Regions from separate parts of the Homo sapiens genome. Here region 2 is linked to region 1. The links are contacts of gene promoters, found by promoter capture Hi-C in blood cells and fetal thymus (Javierre and others, 2016). All regions are on one chromosome and are shown on one strand. Each heading gives the region's core, a stretch centred on a gene start or on the middle of the fragment in contact. The rest is flanking DNA. Distances are from core to core; before and after follow the strand shown. Region 1 holds the start of BMAL1 (basic helix-loop-helix ARNT like 1). Region 2 holds the start of RPL27A (ribosomal protein L27a).

The links. Contacts are between HindIII fragments. The CHiCAGO score rates a contact against its expected background, and 5 or more counts as called.
Region 2: a contact is called between the fragment with the promoter of RPL27A here and the fragment with the promoter of BMAL1 in region 1, in 2 of 17 cell types (fetal thymus and total CD8 T cells). The highest score is 7.1, in fetal thymus.

What each region holds. Positions count from the first base shown.
Region 1 is chr11:13,276,540-13,283,858 of GRCh38, forward strand. BMAL1 (basic helix-loop-helix ARNT like 1) reads left to right here and starts at 1,251. Exons shown (of 20, transcript NM_001297719.2): 1 at 1,251-1,384. RefSeq lists silencers at 852-1,501, 1,572-1,641, 1,922-2,261. The HindIII fragment of the contact is 3,232 bases long and covers 1-2,711 here.
Region 2 is chr11:8,679,054-8,684,041 of GRCh38, forward strand. It overlaps RPL27A (ribosomal protein L27a), which reads left to right and starts at 3,739. Exons shown (of 5, transcript NM_000990.5): 1 at 3,739-3,763; 2 at 4,149-4,212; 3 at 4,953-4,988. The coding sequence starts at 3,761. It overlaps TRIM66 (tripartite motif containing 66), which reads right to left and starts at 3,612. Exons shown (of 25, transcript NM_001388022.1): 1 at 3,548-3,612; 2 at 848-1,010; 3 at 567-761. RefSeq lists enhancers at 3,169-4,368, 3,232-3,301, 3,502-3,691, 4,018-4,660 and a silencer at 3,812-4,011. The HindIII fragment of the contact is 2,972 bases long and covers 1,161-4,132 here.

The DNA of each region.
Region 1 (7,319 bases), core at 1-2,500:
CCAGTCTGGGTAACAGAATTAGGCCAATTTATTTAATTCCATTTGTTCATGTATCCAGCCAACAGATATTTATGGTGCACTTGTTGGGTGCCAGCCCCGCCCCCACCACTCCACCCTACCCCAGCAGGCGCTAAAGGAGAGCTGACATGATGGATAACGAAAAAGAAGACGCTGTCCTTCTATTCAGGGAGTTTAACATCTGGAAGAGCCGGGAGTTCTTTGTGCTAAAGGCCCTCTACAAAGTGCCTGAGATGCAAAAATAAGTCACTTTCTCTGTCCTCTCAGCAACCGAGTCGCATGTCGTTATCAAATTTTTATTTTCTGTAACTGTTTCCTTCCGTCTTGCTCCGTAGACAGCTTTTTGCAGCAGAGAGCGCTGCCGCGGGGCTGGTGTCTACTCTTCAGTAAGTGGTCAAAACCTGGCTACTGGAAGGAAATGCAATGGAATCGCTCCGCGCTCGAGTATTCTCTTTGGAACTACGGGAATGACAGCTCCAGTGGGACACTTGGAGGTCATGATGAACGCAAAGAACGTGAGAACACTTGCAGTCCTCGGGGTGGAAATGCCTTCTAGAAATACTAAGTATCCGTTCTCTCGTTGAGACTTTGGCAAACCAGGGATTTTAGGAAGGGTCTGGCACTCAACGTTCCTAAAATTGGTTTCCTAGATGGAGCCGGAGGGAGAGAGGGAGTCAGGAACTGCTGCTTTTCGTCGGAATGCCCGGAGGGGAGAAGAAGAAGGAGGAGGGGTGAGGGCGGGCGGCCAAACGCCAGCCGGCAGGGGACCCAGAGAAGAGGGACATCCCGGGCGACCCCGAGGAGCGCGGCTTGGGCACCGCAGTGGCCGCGGCTAGTGGGAGACCTGAGGGGAAAGGGAGAGGGCAGGGGCGAGGAACCCAGGGAGCGCGCGCGGATTGGTCCTCTCCTCGGGGCGTGCGCTCCTGTGCGCCAAATGATTGGTGGCAGGAAAGTAGCAGGTAAACCGGCTCCCGCCGCCTCGCCATTGGTCAGCGGCCTCTCTAGCCGCCACACAACTGGCCAGCGGGCTGCCGAGCCGCGCGCGGATTGGCTGGGGGCGGCCGCCGGGACCGGCTCCCTTCGGGCGTTCGGATTGGCTGGCGGGAAGAGGCAGGTATCCGGGCGCTGCGGCTCCTCCATTGGTGGGCGGGGAAGGGGGGTTGGGCACAGCGATTGGTGGGCGGGGGGCCGGGCCTGGGCCGGCGGGGAGCGGATTGGTCGGAAAGTAGGTTAGTGGTGCGACATTTAGGGAAGGCAGAAAGTAGGTCAGGGACGGAGGTGCCTGTTTACCCGCGCCGGACTCACCGCCGCCGCCGCCGCGGGATCCGAGTGCGGGCGCGGGCGCGGGCGCTCCCGGCGAGCCACGGTGAGTGTCAGGCCGGCGGCGGCCAGCGACGCGATCCCGCGCACCCCGTCGGGGGCCGTTAGCACCCTCGCGGGCGCTGCGCCCCTGCCGCCGCCCCGGGGGCAACCCGGCCGCCGAAGAACCCTGCCCGACGTGCCCGCTGCCGGCCTTAAAGGGCCCGTGACCGCTCCCTGCCCCCACCCGGGCCGTGGGGAGGCTGCGCCCCTTAAAGGCGCCGCGCCCGTCCGCCCCCATCCTCCTCGCGGGGGCTGCCGCTGCGGGCTAGGGCAGGCAGAGGTGCTGCAGGAGCCCTTAAAGGGGCCGGGAAAGTGTTCGCTGGAGTACCCACCGCCCTTCCGCGGGCATCGCTACCTGGCGGGGGGAGGGGGCAGCTAGCTGCCTCTTAAAGGGATAGCTCTGCCCTTGGGGGCAGTGACTCGGCCGAAGAGGACTCCTAGATGTGTCCCCGGGAGCTTCGGGGATCCCCGAGGGGACCATGCCTGGTGGCTGCCCCTCAAGGGCGTTGGGCGAACGGTGCCGCGTCTGCCCTTCCTCCCCGCTTCACTTCCCTTTCGGGAGCCCGCGAGGCTGGGTGGGGGCGGGGAGGGCGTCTCCGTCGGGCTTGGGGAGTCCAAGTCCGCCCGCCCCTTCGGCCCTGTAGCCAGGGCTGGCGCTGCACCCGGGAATCCCCGGCCGGCACGGGGCCGACCCCAGCCTGCGAACTTTCGTGGGGCCTGTGCCGTCCAGGTCCTGGGCGGCCCTCAAGGATGCCCCGTGGGTCTGCGGGCAGGTGCGCGTCGGCCTGGGGATGTCGCCCGGAGCCCGGGTGCGGGCCGGCCTTGGAGTCCCAGAGCTCCGCGGAGGGCGCAGCGAGCCTGGCTCCAGCTCCGGGTTTGACAGATGTCAGGGAAGAAAAGGTTCCCGCTCGGCTATTGCCGGGCGTTGACATCCCAGAGAGCTTCCCGTTTGCTTGGAAGAAGACGAGGAAGGTAGAGGTGAACGTCGACCTTGTGGGGCGCATGTTAGCCTCCCCGAGGGGTCGCGAGAGCCGGCAGCGGGGTGAGCTCAGGTGCCCGCCGGCAGGAGCTGGGGAGGGAAGGGGAGTGCTGGACACCGGCGCCTGCTGTCAAGTTCTCGCCGGCCGGTGAGAGACCCGCTGCCGCCGCGCACCCCGCACCTCCTGACCCCTCTCCCCTCTCCGCCTCGGCCCCTTCCCGGTCACCTAGCGTTGTTTTGGCGCTTTGGCGCTTGCGGTCTCTTCCTTCTTCCACCGCTACTCCTCAGCGAGGAATTATTAGCCAAGTTTTCTCACCCAGCTTCCAAAAATCAGATTCCGTATTTGTGAACAAGCTTTTCTTGACACTACCCGTATACCCGTATTTCCAGCATCGTCGTTTTATTAAACATCCATAAAAGCTGCCCCTTAGATGCATTCATTTCCCACGACACCTGCTTGCTTGTCATTTGTCCTTCTGACATCTGCTGTTGTTCACCCCTTTAATCTATTATTAAATGACAACTATTATTTTAATTCTTCTGGTCTCATTGATATCCGGATCTGTGAATTTGGGTTGGTGGAGTTTTTAATTAATGTACCCGTTGAATCATGAGCTTAAAATAATCATTGCTGCTCCTGAGCAGTTTTGAATAATATCATGCTCTCTCTGCTTGCAAGACTTAAAAAAATTCGCTGGTGTTATATTTGATTTCCATATCAATGGAATTCCCAAATATTTTTGAAAATACAAAATTCAGTCTTTCAGTCCATGTTTTGTTACTCAGATCATTTTACTGATAAGTCTTTAACGCAGCTTATAGAACATATTTAGAAGGTTTGGAAATTTCCTGGACAGGATTTGAAATTGCCTGTATCATCTGAAGCTGGTTCTGTAGAAGCATTTTGGTTTTGATTGTAGATGCAGCCAGTGAATGATAACAATAAGTTAAAACTGTAGTTAAATTTGTTCTTTATTCAACCCTCTGAAGAACGAACAGATCTGGTAGAAAAGCACTAACCTGGGAGTTAGGAGCTGGACATCCTGGTTCTAGTTTAGGCTTGGGCTCTCATGGCCGTTCCAGTCGGGGCAAGTTATTAAAGATTTCTAGGTTGTGTTTGCCTCTGATGGAAAGTAAGACGGTTGAACTAGGTGATCTCAAAGGTTCCTCTCTTTTGAAGTTCTGTAAGTCTCTAAATATTTAATACATTTGAATTCAGGTTGGTATTTACCTCCTGGCACCTCCAGAATATCTGAGCTGAAGCCCTATTTTCATAAGAAAGTTAAGCAGATCAACAGATGGTGTTTTGAAGAATCCATTTCAAATGATTTATAAAATGATGACTACTTACGAGTTTGTCTGCTATTTGCAGAAGAGGTTTGCATGCCACAGGGCAGGAAAAGGAAGTGGCCATGTTTTCAGATTTATCCCTTCACACCAACAATCTCTGTGGAATTTATATGCTAAAAGATGGAGAAGCACCATAGAAAGATTTGGCTGTATTAACAAAACTGCATATGAAAAGGTAAAAACTAGATAGTTAATATCTCTCTTTGGTGTAAGGGTTATAATGTATCTGAGCTTTCTTTGTGATTTCATCATCAACTCTCACTGTGGTAGGAAAATCAATATTAAATAAACAGTTTCAGCCCCGTGATTACATGCAGTGATTTTAGGAAGCATCATGATAACTAAAGTAGGTACTTGCAGGGAAGTAAAATATCCTTTCTAGACCTTGAGGTTTCGTTGGGAGCTAGGGACACAGGCATGTTATCCTTCTCCACAGTCTTTTTTCATTGTCACCTTATCACAAGACTCAGATTTATCCCAAATACCCACCTTGTCTTTTCTTCTCCCTCTCATGAAATAAGACCTGCTCTGACTCAACCCCCTCAGCATCTCTTACTTCCCACCCAAAATGTCCTGTCTCTATCCCCATCGTCCCCTCATCTCCTCCCAATTCAGAGAAAGCAAGTGGACCTCTCCTCTGTTCCTTTTCTTGGCCTCTCACCATGGGCAAGTGCCTGGGCTCTGGTGGCAGAAGAATCCATGGCTCAGGTTTGGGCTTTGTGGTCTTGGATGTGTGCTTGACTCCTCTGACCTCAGGTTTCTCCTCTTGGTGTAATGGCAGTGCCTGCCTCGTGGAGTCTGTGTGAGGATTAAGGGAGATGGTGCATGTAAAAGGCCTGGCACACAGGAAGCCTTTCCTTTGTGCCAGCTGCCATTCCTTCTCACCTCTACCCGGGTCCTATCACTAGAATATTATTTGTGCTGTTTGTCCTTAGTCTCCCCTGCCCCACCCTGAAAACCTTAGGCTTGACTTAGGAGAGGAAGGATGGAAGAGGCAGAGTCAGACTTGTGGTGAGCCTGCTGTGTACCAGGCAATTTACATGTGTCTTTACTTGGTACCCTGGGTTCGTAAGCCTCTCTTTCCTCCCTCCTGCCAGCCTCCCCCACTCTCCCATCTCCTGCTCCATTCTTAGTACCTGCCCTCTGGCTTCTCTCGCTACCACCTTTCTTTATATTTCTTCTCAAAGTTTTCTCCAAAACTTTGTCGTGAGTTCCTGGGGCCCATCTGCCCATCCTTATTCCTGAGTGGTTGTTCTTGGCCCCTTTGCAGTATTTCTTTTATTTTTTTAAACATGGTCTCAGTCTTGCCTGGTTGGAGTGCAGTGGTGCAATCGTGGCTCACTGCAGCCTCCCAAGTCTCAGGTAATCCTCCTGCCTCAGCCTCCAGAGTAGCTGAGCCTACAGACACGTGCCATCACACCTGGCTCATTTTTGTATTTTTATTAGAGATGGAGTTTTGCCATGTTGCCCAGGCTGGTCTCAAACTCCTGGGCTCAAGTGACCCACCTGCACTGGCCTCCCAAAGTGCTGGGATTACAGGCGTGAGTCACTGTGCTCAGCCCCTTTGAAGCTTTTACCTCACTTGTTTTTTGTCCTTTGAAATCCTTTCCTCTCTCAGCCTTTGGGTCATGCTGGTTTCTTGATTCTCTTCCTGCACCCCTGTAAAGATAAATGTCTGTCCTAGCTTCTGCTATTCACACTGTCCGTGGCCTGGGGTCCCCTCTCTAGCCCTGACCTGTCTCTCCTGTGTTCTGCTAGCAGGTCCGTTGTGGACATGAATGGCAGCCTGTAATCTGCATTTGTGGTCTCGGAGTTACAGGTTTGCAGACTGCTTGCAAGCACTGTCACATTGAGTCCTCATGACACACTGGAGCCTACATCCCTTCATTCCCCAGGCTGTCCTAAAAGGCAGTTTGGTTGGGTAGTTTAGCATACAGACTCTGGAGCCAGATTTCACATCCTAAGTATTCCCTACTGGCTTCGTGACTTGTGGTCAATTTTCTTTTGCTCTCTATGCCTTGGTGTCCTCATCTATAAAACTGGGATCATAGTAGCCCCTACATCAGAGAGTTGAGGTGTGGATTAAATGAGTTAAAGCATTGGAAAAAGTGTGCCAGTCTATTCATGGCACATTGCAAACACTCAGTGAATGTTGCTGTCAGTCTTGCTGCTCTTCGTTGCCTTGCCGGGGTGCCTTGGCCTGGTTTGTAGTGGTCTCCACATTCAGCCTGCCTGTCTGCCAGACCTTGCCATGTGCCTGGACACTGTAGTCAAGCTGAGGGGCTGTCCATTCCCTGTACCAGCCCTTGGCCCAGTCCATCCCTCAATTTTCACGTGTCCAAATCCTCCTCTGCTTTTAGGACCCAGGGCCTTGGTCCTGCAGCACTATTTCTTCATTTTGTTTTCCTTCCTCCCCACACCTGGCAGCAATGTCCACATTGATTTTTCTCCAATTCTCTTAGGTTCTGCTGCATTCCATATTGTGTTGGGCTGTCTCTGAAAATATCTCACCTGCTCGCTCAGCCTGAGCATTCTGGGAGAAGTTTATCTTGCTTTTTCCAAAATGACAGGCACAGGGAGCCTTTAGGCCATGGTTGTCCAATGCACATTGATCTTGTGGAGGAGGAGATGGGATGGGGTGGGCACTCAGGGACGGAGCAGGTGGAGGGAACAGGATGCACACTGCATAGAGGTGGGGGTGCAACAGGGCCATAAGTGGACATGGCCGTAAGTACTTAGGTCTGCATGGAAGGAGGGTTTGAATTGGGGACTTAACCTCAGGGGGAGATAAGATTGGATAAGGTTTAGTCATCTTTGCTGCAGGGGAACGTTGAGTACTGGCATGTAATGGAGAGTGGTTTTTACCTTAGTATGTGCTGTCCTTTTAAATAGTGTAAACTAATTCTTTATCTAGCCTGGTTAAAGAAGGGGATGGCTGGTCTGCCTAATTTAATATTTGGCTATTGCTCTACCCACTGGGTTTTGTGCATATACTGAATGAAGCATTGGCTTGTATTTATTCCTTCAATCACTGTTTGAAATGTCTGACCTGGGCAAGTTAATTAGCTTCTCTGAGTGCAAAATAGGAATAATAATTATTACGATAATAGCAGCTAACATTTATTGAACACTTTCTATGTGCCAGCACATATGTGAGTCACCTTTGCTTATTAACTCATTTAAACCCCATAACAACTACATGAGGCAGGTACTATTATCCTTACTTCACAAATGAGGTGGTTTTATAAACTGCCCAAGGTCACTCAGCTGTTATGGCTTGGGGCAGAATTTGTGCTGGTGAACTCCAGAGTCTGCCCTGTAACACCCTAGTAGATTCCTACTGGGAGGAAACACCCCGTTATATCCCTTACCTCACTCAGCCGCACCATGCCAGGAGCCTAGTAGGCTGACAGCAATTGGGAACCAGTCTTATTGTTGACAAACATGGTATGAGCCTCTTTTAGAGCGGAGCTGCCTGAAACCCTCCGCATAAGGGATGCGGACCTGGATGCTACCTGAGCAGCAGCTCCAGGGGCTTGTGAACATTCTCCTCACATCCTGTTATGCATGGCTGTCTCTCTGGCCTCCCCCTGCTTTCTCTGCAGCATTG
Region 2 (4,988 bases), core at 2,489-4,988, 4.6 Mb before region 1:
GTCACAGAGAAGGACACCCCTCAGGAGTCATGGCCAAAGGTCATGTCCCATGTGCCTAGCTGGGAGGGACAGGTCCCCTAATGCCAAATATCTGGCTGCTACTCCACTTTGCAGACAGAAAACTCAGCTTTGTCTGCTCTCTCAGACCTCTGTCAACCTAGGAAAAGTGACACACACTGAACAAACACCACATGAGCTGTGTGTTTAAGTCATGTGGTTGCCTTTTGAAGGAGAGGGAGCTGGATAGAAAACTGGATTGAGCCAGACAACTACCCAGGGTACTCCCTCTACAACCAGATCAAGCCATTGATGAGAAGAATGTTAGGTGAACACAGAACCCAACGGGTAGTGCTGGGTCCACTCTGGGAGGCCTTCTGTTCAGCCGCGTGACCTGAGGGACAGAACGTAGCTCCTCTATAACCAAGGAACCTGGCAAACTATCCAAGAGGAGTGTCTTAGCACCCAGAACCCTACCTCAACCCCTTGCAGTGGTGGTCCTTATTGTAGGCCCCAGCTCTAATACCACTGATGGTTCCCTTTCATTCCCAAGGCCCTGCCCAGCTTACCTCCATTGACAGATCATCTTCCCAAGGTTAGGTTCCAGGTAACCCAGCTCATTTCTTGTGCACTTACTGGCCAGTTTTGATGTCAAATAGACGACGATGTCTTCTTTGATCTCCCCTCCTATTCTCAAGACCCCTCTTCCTGCTGGTCACATGCAGTATGTGATTAAGGTTGATGGAGGGATGAAGACCATAATGCTGTAAGGTCAGAGAGGGACTGGTCACTGAGGTAAAAGCAGGGGATCTGGAGAGAGAAGACTAAAGGCTAGGCCCAGGCTCTGTACCTGACCACCTATGCAGCGTCTGACAAGTCACCCAATTCTTCTGTGCTTCAGTTTTCACACACGTAAAATGAGGCTGGTAGTGCTGTACCTTCAGGCAGATGTATTTTGTAAATTGCCAAGTGCTCTGAAAATGTTGGTTGTTATCCTTGTGGACTGAAGTGTTCTGGGAAGAAGCAGAATATAAAGTTGGCCTTAAAGGTTGAGGAAGATTCAGGACATGTGGTCAGGAAGAGGATGGGCACTCCGGGATGGGAAACAGCATGAGCAAAGGCAAAAATGCAAATGGGATATACCAGGCACGGCTGCAGTAGAAAGCTTGTGTAAGGGAGAGGCTGGGGTAAGGCTGGAAAGGCAAGTGGGCTATATTCTGTTGGTCATAAGGAGCTACCGAACTTTTTGATCAAGTAAAAGAATGAAAGTCATGTTTTCGGAATACTAACGTGGTGGAGGTGTGAAGGATACAGAAATTGGAGGAGGGTTAGAATGCAGGCAGAGTGAACAAAGGAAGGTGTTGTAAACTCCAGTTAAGAGATATGATGGGGGCCTGAATGAAGGCAGGGCACTAAGGCTTAAACAGAGGAAGCACATTGGGGAGATACAGAAACAAAAGGATAGGGTGACAGTGTAGTAGAAGAAGAGAAGGCTTGGGGACAATTTTCATTATCTAGGTGGACAATGGTGCCACTCACCAAGACAGAGAATAAAGGAGAAGGCACCAGTGAGCAGTGCAGATTGAGTTCTTTGGATATGTTTACTTTGTCTGTAGAATGTCCAAGGAATACTAACCAGTAATTAAGTGACCATATGGGTGTGGAGCTCAGCAATAAGGATGTGAATTGAAGCCACCCAAGAAGACCATGTACTGTGAAAAGATAAGGACAAGGACAGAAGGCTGAGGAACATCAACATTCAAATGGTGGACAACGCTGGATGGAAGAACCTGAAAAGAAGACTGAAAAGTGACCAAAGAGTAGGAGGAAGGCAAGACTTTTTCTAGAAAAAGACGCCAACAGATTAAAGTACAACAGAAAGAACAAGTGATATGAAGAATAGGAAGAGTCCAATTTGGCAATTCGTTCATTAATGACATTAGTAAGAGCAATTTCACTGAAGTCACAGGCTGTGAGCTAGACCGCAGTGAACAATGGATGGGAAGGTGCAAATGGGCAGGATTTGTAGACTACTCTTTTGGGGAGCTTGGCTGTAAGGGCAAGGACATGGGAGAATTTTGGAATTTTTTTTTTTTTTTTTGAGACGGAGTCTCGTTCTGTCGCCCAGGCTGCAGTGCAGTGGCGCGATCTCGGTTCACTACAAGCTCCGCCTCCCGGGTTCACGCCATTCTCCTGCCTCAGCCTCCCGAGTAGCTGGGACTACAGGCGCCCACCACCACGCCCATCTAATTTTTTGTATTTTTAGTAGAGACGGGGTTTCACCGTGTTAGCCAGGATGGTCTCGATCTCCTGACCTCGTGATCCGCCCGCCTCGGCCTTCCAAAGTGCTGGGATTACAGAAGTAAGCCACCACGCCCGGCCAGAATTTTGGATATTTTAGCTAAAATATATTTTAGCTGAAGGGGGCAAGACAAAGAAAAATAAATAAATACACGCTCACACATACACACAGAGAATAACTGAGGGGATGGGATTTTAAAAATTTATTTCATTTTTCCCATGGGATCTATTAATAGACTAGCGAGGGGATGGGATCTTGAACACTGGTTGAAGGAACCGACTTAAGAGCGAAGACATGCTGCTATTAGCGAAGACAGGGAGGTGAGGGTAAGTTCATTTATTCACTCAACAATCACTAGTTGAGTGTGGATTAAAAAAAACAGTCCTTGACCACATAAGGAATTAGGTCTAGTAGGGAAGACAAACGTAGGTCAATAAATTACATAAGGGTTATACTAGATTGTGTGGTGGTACAGGTGGGGAAGCGAGCAACTGTCTGCATTGTGTCCAGGAAAGGGTCACAGGCGTGTTATGTAGATTCTGGAGAAAATTCAAAAATAGCATTTATTTTTACTTATTTACTTTTGTATGTGGAGACGAGGGTCTCACTATGTTGCCCAGGCTGGTGTTGAACTACTCGCCTCAAGAAATCCTCCCGCCTCGACCTCCCAAAGTGTTGGGACTACAGGTGTGAGCCACCGCGCCTGGCCTAAATGTGGCATTTAGAAAAAGTATTTACAACATCTGCATTAAAAGGACCATAAAGCAACCAGGCATCTAAGTCCCTGAAGCAATTTAAGTTGCTCAAACTTGAGAGGACAACCAAATGATAGCAAAAGGGCAAAAGAGAAAGGAAGCTGCAGTGCCCACTCAGAAGTGTGAGAGCGGGAGAAGGCATTTCGGGAGCCGCCCGAGCTTCAGGAAACCGAGCGAGACACCAGGTGGGCACACTGAGGATTAAAGAGGGCCTCGCGGTTCCGCACTGCGGCCGGGAGACAAACCAGTAGCCACTATCACCAGCCCCGGGCAGACCACTAAGAACTGTGGAGGTGCGCGGGGCGGCTCAGGGCTGGCGCATTTGGTGAGGAGCTCAGACAACGAGGCCCTTAGGGTCGGCTTAGGCGGTTCCCTGACCAAGGCGCCAGAAAAGGGCCTGGCTCAAGCAAGCACGGGCGGCGTGCAGTACAGCACACCTAGCCCCGATTCTTCAACAGTTCTCGCCCTCCGAGCCTAGCACAACGAGCCTCACCGAAACCGTACACCGCCACCAGGACACTCCGTGATGGGGGATCACCACCCTCAGAAAGAGGAAGCGACTAGCAGGCGCGCAATCCCGCGAGACCAGGAGGCCCCGCCCGAAGCCCGGCCTCTGTGACCGGAAGTGAGGCGTTTTGCCCCGCCCCCGTGGCCGATACCTCGCGAGACTTGGCGAAGGCCTTCCTTTTTCGTCTGGGCTGCCAACATGGTAGGTGTTTCGTTTCTTGCCTCCTCTTCCTTGCCGGCGGAGACCCCTAAGCTGTATTCCCATTGCCCCTAGTCATCCACTCCCTACCATGGTCGGGGCTTCCAGGCTGCGCATGGCCGCCTGCGGGGCAGGGTGGCCGGCGCGGGCCCGGGGCGGGGCTCCCGGAGCCGTGTGTTAGGCCCGCGGTTCGGATCTCTAGGACACGCGGGCCCCTGCGCTACCGTGGTGAGACCTCACGGCCCTGAGCGGATCGGTACCCTCAGCTTTCCCAAACGCTCCAGAAGTTAGGTCTTTGACCCACAGGCTTACAGGACCATCTCGGCTGGCGGGCATCGCCCCCTGCCCCTAATTCCTTAGGCCTTACCACCAAGCTTTTTCCACACAGCCATCCAGACTGAGGAAGACCCGGAAACTTAGGGGCCACGTGAGCCACGGCCACGGCCGCATAGGTAAGTGCCGGCTTCCCCTCGGGGTGGGCCTTGGGCTCTCTTCGGGTGCTTAGCTAGTCTGGAGATCGGTAGCCTATAAGTGGGTTAGAATAAGACCTTTTTGTGGTCAAGTTGCACAGCTGTTGATTTTTTTCTGACGATCCTCTAGTATTCCAGTTCTAAGGAATTTCACATCAGTGGGGTAATAGGAATTGAGCAGGCACGGTATTGGGTTAGTTGAAGACATGGAGTACTGTGGGAATGCTGTGATGTGGAACCTGAAAAGATGTTTCACCCGGAATCCTAAAGTAATCGCATTGCTGAAAACCGGCATCGGTAGGGTGGGAACAGCGTAAGCGGGACACAGAAGTCTGGGAAACACTCTGCTTTTGTGCGAGGAAGTATTGAGATGCATGAGAAGGCTGTGTGGTGCATGTAGCTTTTTTGTGTGTGTGTGAGACTGATCACTGTCGCCCAGGCTGGAGTGCAGTGGCGAAATCTCGGCTCACTGCAACCCCTGCCTGCCGGGCTCAAGCGATTCTCCTGCCTCAGCCTCCCGAGTAGCTGATATTACAGGTGTGCGCCACGACGCCCGGCTAATTCTTTTTCTATTTTTAGTAGAGTCGGGGGTTTCTCCGTGTTGGCCAGGCTGGTCTCGAACTCCTGACCTCAGGTGATCTACCCCCCCTCGTCCTCCTAAAATGCTGGGATTACAGGCATGAGCCATCACACCGGCCCCACGTAGCTTTGTATTCCTGCAGGCAAGCACCGGAAGCACCCCGGCGGCCGCGGTAATG